Linked DNA regions of Homo sapiens: regions 1 and 3 are each linked to region 2. Evidence: promoter capture Hi-C in 16 types of primary human blood cells and fetal thymus (Javierre and others, 2016). All regions are on one chromosome and are shown on one strand. Each heading gives the region's core, a stretch centred on a gene start or on the middle of the fragment in contact. The rest is flanking DNA. Distances are from core to core; before and after follow the strand shown. Region 1 overlaps EAF2 (ELL associated factor 2). Region 2 holds the start of CSTA (cystatin A). Region 3 holds the start of CD86 (CD86 molecule).

Region 1 (3,156 bases), core at 657-3,156, 470 kb before region 2:
ACAGTGGCAAATTAAGAAAGTTGGAGAGTAGATGAGAAGATCATGGAGGGTCCATGTGCAGGTTTATGGAATATGGCTTTATCTGAATACACAGTTTTTTAAGCACAGAAAGATTTTTAAGCAAGGGAACAATACGATTAGATTTGCCTGCTCACAGAATGGGGAACAAAATTGGAAAGAGAGTAGGGAGGAGAATAACAATAATCTAGGTGAATGACGATTGAAGGTGTGTCATCACAGTGAACATGGAGCCGATAGGTGGTATTCAATAGTTATTTAGAGGCAATGATAGTTCATATGCTTAGTAGTTGTCTGGTACTTTAGTAGTTGCCTTTCTTGGGGTATTGAATAAGGAATGGACAGAAACTGAAGCTTAAAAGTTAGGAATGGTGTTCAATTTAATGAGGGAGAAAGTTTACATTTATAAAACTTGTTCAAAATGTAGATGGCAGGTGTAGAGATTATGAAAGATTTGTTTCATTTGTTACTTATGACCAGAAATTGTCTATATTATTCATATTTAACCTTCATTGAATATTTATAAAGGTCTTGATACTTCTTCAGGTGCTGAGAGCAATTTTTTAAAAATTAATGATTAGTTCTTATTTTCAGGAGCTCAGAGAACAATAATACATTGTAATTTTTAGATGTATTCCATTCTAATTAAGAGTACAGATATCATTAAGAATATCTTGCACAAATCTCTTATCAACTGTAATTTGGAGTCCTTAGGTAACTATTTTGGGGTATCTTACTTGTTTCAGTCAACACATCTGAAAAATTTACTTACCAGCCAAGTAGACCCACTTTGTTTGGTTATAATCATGCTCCTGACTCTCCAGCTTACCAGGGCTTCAACTAAGTGCTCCACATCTAACCGTTTTAGAGCTAGCCCAGACATGTCTTCATCTACGTGTTGTGCATTCTTGATTTTCTGTAGATTACTTTAGTCTTTGGGAGAGGTAAAAAACCCACAAACAACTGTTCCTTTATTTTACATTTATAATTTTCCCTCCATACCTTCAGAAATCTCTAACCTACCCATCTTTTATGGCATTTTCAATTACCTAATTTATCTTATACTCCTCCTAGTGCTCATTTAGTAAATCTCTAATGATTAACTTTAATATGATACACCACTTAGCCTTTTTAGAGGTCATCCTTTTCTAACCTGATCTAACAGTACTATTTTATTATTTTTGTAATATTTGATAAAATTATTATGATAAATCCATTAAAATTTAATGTACTTTTATAAACTCCAAAGACAAACATACACAAATAATTGTTTAGAAATACATATATGTGGGATAAAGCAAAAGAATGACAAACGTAAAATTCCTTCAGGTTTGATGGAGCAGGGACAAAAGATAGGGGAGGAGCATGTAAGTAGATGTAGTTTATTAGTAATGATCTAGGTTTCTTTTATTGCCAACAGAATTGTATAATGAATTACATGTACCCATCACTGAGCTTTAACAATTATCAACATTTTGCTAATCTTTTTATTTTTTAATCTAATGTCTTACCATTTTTTTCCTTGGCATATTTTATAGCAAATCCCAGACAATGTGCCATTTCATCAATGCTTACTTATGTATCTCTAACTGATAAGGACATTTCTATCTAAGCACCATGCTATTATCACAAATAACATAATTGATAATACTTCGTCCATAGTCACAATTTTGTGATGATCTCAAAAACGTGTTTTTTACAGACATTTGTCTGTAAAATGTCCTAACTAGAATCCAAATAAGATTTCTACATTGTATTTGAATATTGTATTTCTTGTCTCTTTTATTCTTTAAAAGTCCCTTCCTTTCTTCTCCACCCCTTTTTTAATTTATCTTTTTTAGAGACAGGGTCTCACTGTGTTGCCCAGGTTGGAGTGCAGTGGCTATTCACGGGTGTGATTATGTCACACTGAAGCCTAGAACTCCTGGCTTCAAGCTGTCCTCCTGCTTCAGCACCCATCCTCCACAAGTAGCTGGTACTACAGTGCCTGCACCTGGCTCTCTTCTCTTTTTTATGCCATTGGTTTGTTGGAAAAACCGTACTATCTGTCCTAGAGAATATACCTACATTCTGGACTTCAAATTACTTCTATCTGGATGTATTTAACTTGTTCCTCTATTCCTTCTATTTTCTATATATTGGTAGTTATATATCTAAGGGCAGGCTGGATTACAGATTCTTTGGGGTTTGATAAGAATTAAATTCTTTGGGGTTTTTGTGTGGTTTTTGGCAAGAGTATTTTATGGATGGCGCAGTGTACTTTCATATGACATCATTAAGCACATAATGTCTGCTTATCTTACTTTTAATTATGCTAAATTTAATTAGTGGGTTTAGTGTAAGAGGTGTTCCTTAATATGCATAGGGAGGTACTGCTTTAAGAAAATGCCAGATTTTAAAAATTAAACTTATAAAGCAATAAGAAAGAAGATGAGGAGGCTGGGCACAGTGGCTTCTGCCTGTAATCACAGCACTTTGGGAGACTGAGATGGGTGGATCACTTGAGGTCAGGAGTTCGAGACCAGCCTGACCAACATGGTGAAACCCCGTCTCTACTAAAAATATAAAAATTAGCTGGGCGTGGTTGTCCATGCCTATAGTCCCAACTGCTCTGGAGGCTGAGGCAGGAGAATCACTTGAATCCAGGAGGTGGAGGTTGCAGTGAGCCGAGATCGTGCCACTGCACTCCAGCCCGGGCAACAGAGCAAGACTCTGTCTCAAAAAAAAAAAAAAAAAAAGGAGGAATAGAAAATATGATTCAAGGCTCTGTTTCCTTATCCATAAAATATATTGGTTGTGTTCGAATTGAATCTCAATTACTCATTATAGGCCAAAGAAACAAATCTTTACTGTCCCAAGGTGAGTACCTCCTGTCTTCCCTTTCCTCAATGACAGCAGCTTTGAGATTTCAGCCTATCTTCATCTGTCTTTTTTACTACACTCTTTGGATTCAGGGTAGTAAATTTAGGTAGTTTATGGGTGACTTGAAGTATAACATAGAAGGAGAAACCCAGAATCAAGATTTCAAAGGCCTTCCCAAGTGAATTCCTATGATAAATTTTAAGTAATAATAATTAACTTTTTAAACAGGGTTCAACTCCACCAGTAACTGTTTTCAAAGGTTCAAAAAAACCTTAC
Region 2 (2,916 bases), core at 35-2,534:
GGATACAGAAGAAGTTGGTGCCAATAATTGTCTCTGGAGAGTAGAAGGGTGTCTGAGGAATTAAGTGAGTGAATAATTCCTTATATTGTAAAGCCTGGTTCCTTCCAAACATTTTTATCCTGTGTATGTATTATATATTCCCAAAATTGAATAAAATAATATACATAAATATTCACACAATGTGGCCATTTTGCTTCTAGATAAGTTGTCTGCAGAAGCCCTCACTCATGTAAAAAGGAGAAAAAATGCAACGTTGTTTGTAAGAATGAAACACCAGAAACAACGAAAATCGTCATCAATAGAGAAATGAGTATGTAAAATATGAACTAGAATATAGCAATTAGATAGGTAGACTAAATAGATAGGTCTAGCATAAAATAGCATATCACAGTTAAAGGAAATGAACAGGATTGATCTATCTGTGGATTGATCTATGTGTATATCAACATAGAAAGGCTCAAAAACATGTTGAATAGAAAAAGGAACATAACATAGAATATATTTAGCATACAATTTAAGTGAAATTTTAAAGACACACCAAGTAAGACATATTTTAATTTTAAAGACACACATATAAAAATGGCCTGGAAGGATATTAATTCACCATGTACTTTGCCTTCTGGAAGGCAAGGTTGCGTGGGGTGTGGGGCTTCCTCCATATCTGTAATATTTTATTTCCTAAAAATAACTACAAAAATAAAAAACAGCAAGCAAATATGACAAAAGGGTTAAAAGTTTTAATTCTGAGTGATAGAAATATAGATGTTTGTTATTTTATTCTTTGTGTTTTACCGTATGTTAAACATTTCCAGATATTTAAATAAGAGTAAAGAAGACACATCCAGCCAAGGTCCTCCAGATAGATCCTTTTGCTTTCTTTCTAAAGTCAAGTAAATTCTAAACTAACCTTGACATTATTAGTAAGTTTTGCTTTAAAAAAAATAAAATTTTGTGTTAGAAGTTTTAAAACATTTGGAAATTCTAGTTGCGGCTTCAGATTTCATAATTCAGATGATGCAACAGGATGGAACCATTGTCAAAGAGAATGCAGGGACGTTTGATGCTTGTTAGGACATGACTCCTGTACTTGCCCATTTGTTCATCCTCCAACCCCTCTTTCTTCCAAATTCCATGTAGCATATTCTCTCCAGGAAGCAAGAAGACTTGCCTGGCGGCATACTCATTTTCCCCATGCCTCTTTGCTGTTTGTGGAAAATAAAGCATTCTATAGGCGGAGCTAGTGAACGCCTCTTTTAAAACACGAGTCTCCACACTTCCCTGTTCACTTTGGTTCCAGCATCCTGTCCAGCAAAGAAGCAATCAGCCAAAATGATACCTGGAGGCTTATCTGAGGCCAAACCCGCCACTCCAGAAATCCAGGAGATTGTTGATAAGGTGAGTTGATGCCATTCAGGAAAAAGTCTGAGCCAAAATCTTGATTCATAAGTTGTCCCTGTGGAAAGGCTGTGGTTGAACATGAAAACCAGAAGTTTAGGATGTTTGTGGCTTTGTTCAGGTTTCTTTACAACTAAGATGAAATAAGAGTTTTTCAGATGAAGCCTCAAATAATCCCCAAACTGTGAGTGTGACCTTGAGCAAATCACATTTCTTCTCTGAGCTTCATTTTCTCCATGGGTAAAAGAATTTGTATTGTATCTTCTCTAAAGCTCTTACAAGATATGATTCTAGAATTACTAATTCAGTTTCTGATGAAACTTTTCTAATCTCACCAAGTGAAGCCAACGTGTAATTGAAGTCTAAGGTTATTAACAATTTGATGAAGTAGTCTTGGAATGCACTGCAGGGAAAATTTTTTTAAATAGATTGAATGAAGAATAATATTGTAAAGGCAATCTACTTACAAACTTCATACACTTTTGCCCAAATAGATAGTGTTTTAGTCTTTTCATAGTTAAAAGGTAATTCAACTAATAGAACAGAGGTGACAGTCTATAGTGACTCCGAAATGTCATAGGGCACCAAATTATATATGGAAAAATAGAACTCAATGTTGTTAGCAGATTGATGTGTTTTTCACTTCTTCTTTTTTGTTTTGTTTTGTTTCATTTTTAAGAGATGGGGTCTCACTCTGTCACCCAGGCTGGAGTGCAATGGTCTGATCACGGCTCACTGTAGCCTCAACTTTTTGAGTTCAAGCGATCCTCCCCACTCAGCCTCCTGAGTAGCTGGGATTACAGACATATGCCACCACGCCTGGCTGATTTGGGGGGTTTTGTTTTGTTTTGTTTTTAGAGATGGCATTTCATTCTGTTGCTAGACTGGTCTTGAATTCCTGGGCTCAAGCCATCCACTCACCTAGGCTTCCCAAAGTATTGGGATTACAGGCGTGAGCCACCACACCCATCCCTGATATATTTTTCTTTGTGTGATTAGCTATCATCTAGCTATGTAGTAAACATTTATTTGCATATTTTATGAAAGGAAAACATGTACAAATTACTACTTTAGGTTTTTAGTTTGTTGCCTTATTTTCTTATATTATTCCTTCTTATTTTTTCTCTCTGAAACATCATTCTATGACAGCTTGGAAAACAAGATCAGCTTTTTGTGTGATTATAAGAGTTGGGATCCTGTATATTCTGGGAACTAGAAAGCTCTCTAAGGGGCCAGATGCCTAGAATCCCATCACTCATTCTTGGGGACTAATTATTTCTCTTTCAAGAGTTCTTTTTTTAAATAAATATCTTGGAGCTTTTTTCCTGGGAGATGATATTAAGTCAGTAATGTCTTCATGTGAATCCCCAGATCAGATCAATGTTCTCAAACTTGAATGTGCACATGAATCACCTGCACGTCTTGATAAACCTTAGATTCTGATTCAGGGGACCTGGGGTAGGTCTGAGATTCTGCATTTCTACCAGACTCCCAAGTGCTGCTGCTGCTGCCACCCATGGC
Region 3 (2,805 bases), core at 143-2,642, 270 kb before region 2:
TCTGCAATAATTTTGAAGATAGATAACTTATATTATTGCTGTCTTCATTTTTTAAAATTCTCAAATCCAGATGAAATTATCAAAGTTGATAAAATAATCATTGTTCTATCTTCTTATTTGAAGATTAATAATTGTGTTGATTTTGCTTCCTTGCTCTAGTTAGCAGTGATGTCATCTGCTATTTTTAAACTTCCTTGAAATAATATATGTAATCTACTTCTAATAAGTTTTTCTTATTTAGCATTTTGGTCTAAACTAATTTATAATTATTTAGCCTTATTTCTCCATGTTTAACTTGCTTTAAAGCTCAGCACTGGTGTTTTCAGCCATGGCTTCTCCATTTTAAGGCTATTTTAATTCATTTATTATTCTGGAATATATCCTTAAATAATTTATTTAGGAAGGCTGTCTTGGTGGTGGTATTTCTGTTGCAGTTGTTGTTTTCTTGCCTGCTTGGTGACATATTTCTATTGACTTGACACTTAACTGGCATCTTATCTAGGTAGATAATGCTAATTCAAAATTCTGCAGATATTGTTCTGTTGTTTTTTGCCATTTAGGGTTGAGTAAGATGCCAAGTTGTTTTTTGTTTCTCTGTAGTCATTCTGTTTTCATTTTGTTTTTAGCTTTGCCTTTGGAATTTAAAATGTTCAAAATGATTTGTCTGGATGAGAATCGATTTTCATAACTTTTGCTTTGATACACTAAACAGTTTGAGTTTCTAGATGATGCCCATTTTAATTCATACGAGGAAATATCTTCTAGTATAGTTTCTGCTTGATTAATTCTATGTTTGTCTCTTAGGGACATCTATTAATTTTATAATGCTGCCTTTTTTTCAGACTTCTGTTTCAGAATATTCGCTTTCATCAATGTAATCCTTGGCTATAGTAGGAATGAAATAATAAAAGCAGTAGCTTCTGTCTGCCCTCCTTGGTTATGCAGTCCTTACAGAACATCTCCCCATCTCCCATCCCCCCACCCCAGCTCAGTGAAACTCTCCACACTTTGGTTGTGGAAATTGGCAGGGTTAGGTGGCTACTCACTCCCAATCCACATCCACAATAAATCACTTTTTATTATCTTATCAAAATCTGTAGAATGCCTCTTTATTCTATTTTGTTGCTGCGGAGGTTTGTTTTCTCTTTCTAATTATTTTATTTTCTAGGTTTTTTGAGGGAATTTCAAGAGGGGAGATTTTTTATTCAGGCTCATCTTAACGTCATGTCTGGAACTCAAGCTACTGAATTATATATTCTTTAATACATATAGACCTACGTCAATGAGTTTAAACTGCAAGGAAAGGGTTAAATTTCTTCCTCAAGTGTGGTCAAAATCTGTAGAGAAAAGAGGAACAGCTTCTCTTAAAGAAAGTTAGCTGGGTAGGTATACAGTCATTGCCGAGGAAGGCTTGCACAGGGTGAAAGCTTTGCTTCTCTGCTGCTGTAACAGGGACTAGCACAGACACACGGATGAGTGGGGTCATTTCCAGATATTAGGTCACAGCAGAAGCAGCCAAAATGGATCCCCAGTGGTGAGTAATAATTCTTATTCTTTGCAGAGAAGTTATGAGTTGTGACTGCAGTGAAAGGCTGAGGTTGAAGATGGTGCTTTGATGTGTGTCCTTCACTTAGTTCCTAAGTGGAGAAGCTTTCTTTTTCTACAAAAGATCTTTGGCACATAAAGGCAAGAATTATTTGCAATGCCCAAAGCAGTTCATTGGTGGTAGTTATATATATTTTTAGGTGCCTAATTTTGGTTTTGTAAATCTGTTATTCAAATACTGAATGTTACAGTCATTGATTTTAGTGAAGAATCAGGAATTTTTAAAATATCTGCATAAGAATGACAAATAACAGGGAATATGTTTTTTGTCTACCAGGGTCAGTTTGGTCTGAGGGTGGAGGAATGAGATAGAGAAGGTAGAGGGAGAGAGATCAAGAAAAAGAAAGAGAAAAAAGAGGTATAAGGAGAAAATGCAAAACTCAGTTAATATGTCATAATCAGGCCATGGGAGATTCTGGGCAGGGTTGGGTAGTGGAAGGAGGTAGAGTGATTAAATTAGTTACCATGTATTGAACATGCATGATGTGCTGGGTACTTTACTAGTGCTATTTCATTGAATTTTATTCTTCACAATGACTTTTGGAAAGACATCATCATTCTTTTTGACAGATGGGGTAACTGTGGCTTAAAAAACTTGCCCAAGTTCACACTATTCATAAGGGGTAGAGCTAAAATCTTTCCTGCCCGCTTCGTGGTGCGCCAGAAGGTTTCTCCATGCTGTGGAGACTTCCTGGAAGGAGTCACACCCGCCCTTCTCTTGGGTGGTGGCAGCTGGCGCCAGTCACTATGTATTTATTTATTTTTAATTATTTATTTTTGAAACAGAGTCTCGCTCTGTCGCCAAGCTGGAGTGCAGTGGCGCAATCTCAGCTCACTGCAACCTCCGCCTCTCGGATTCAAACGATTCTCCTTCCTCAGTCTCCTGAGTAGCTGGGACTACAGGCGCCCACCACCACGCCCGGCTAATTTTTGTATTTTTGGTAGAGACGGGGTCCACCATGTTGGCCAGGATGGTCTCGATCTCTTGACCTTGTGATCTGGCCACCTCGGCCTCCCAAAGTGCTGGGATTACAGGCGTGAGCCACCGCGCACCCGGCCGTCACTATGTATTTATAATTACTGTTCTTTGAAAATCGAAGTAACTTTCATCTACCCAGTGCTTACTGGTTTGAGAAAAAGCTTTGTTGCTTTTATTTCAGAAGATTAAAATTTAATTTTCCAGTAAAGATTCCTTTTGCT

What was found. The method cuts DNA at HindIII sites, captures the fragments that hold promoters and counts their contacts. A CHiCAGO score of 5 or more calls a contact.
Region 1: a contact is called between a fragment that was not itself captured here and the fragment with the promoter of CSTA in region 2, in 1 of 17 cell types (monocytes). The highest score is 5.6, in monocytes.
Region 3: a contact is called between the fragment with the promoter of CD86 here and the fragment with the promoter of CSTA in region 2, in 8 of 17 cell types (monocytes, M1 macrophages, M0 macrophages and 5 more). The highest score is 12.2, in monocytes.

The regions. Positions count from the first base shown.
Region 1 is chr3:121,851,579-121,854,734 of GRCh38, forward strand. EAF2 (ELL associated factor 2) reads left to right here. Exons shown (of 6, transcript NM_018456.6): 3 at 3,109-3,156. Among named protein-coding and RNA genes, the nearest start is that of EAF2, 18 kb to the left of the region's middle. The HindIII fragment of the contact is 3,072 bases long and covers 371-3,156 here.
Region 2 is chr3:122,323,964-122,326,879 of GRCh38, forward strand. CSTA (cystatin A) reads left to right here and starts at 1,285. Exons shown (of 3, transcript NM_005213.4): 1 at 1,285-1,395. The coding sequence starts at 1,330. The HindIII fragment of the contact is 6,914 bases long and covers 1-2,916 here.
Region 3 is chr3:122,053,970-122,056,774 of GRCh38, forward strand. CD86 (CD86 molecule) reads left to right here and starts at 1,393. Exons shown (of 7, transcript NM_175862.5): 1 at 1,393-1,534. The coding sequence starts at 1,521. It also overlaps a transcript of ILDR1 not described here. The HindIII fragment of the contact is 6,821 bases long and covers 1-1,425 here.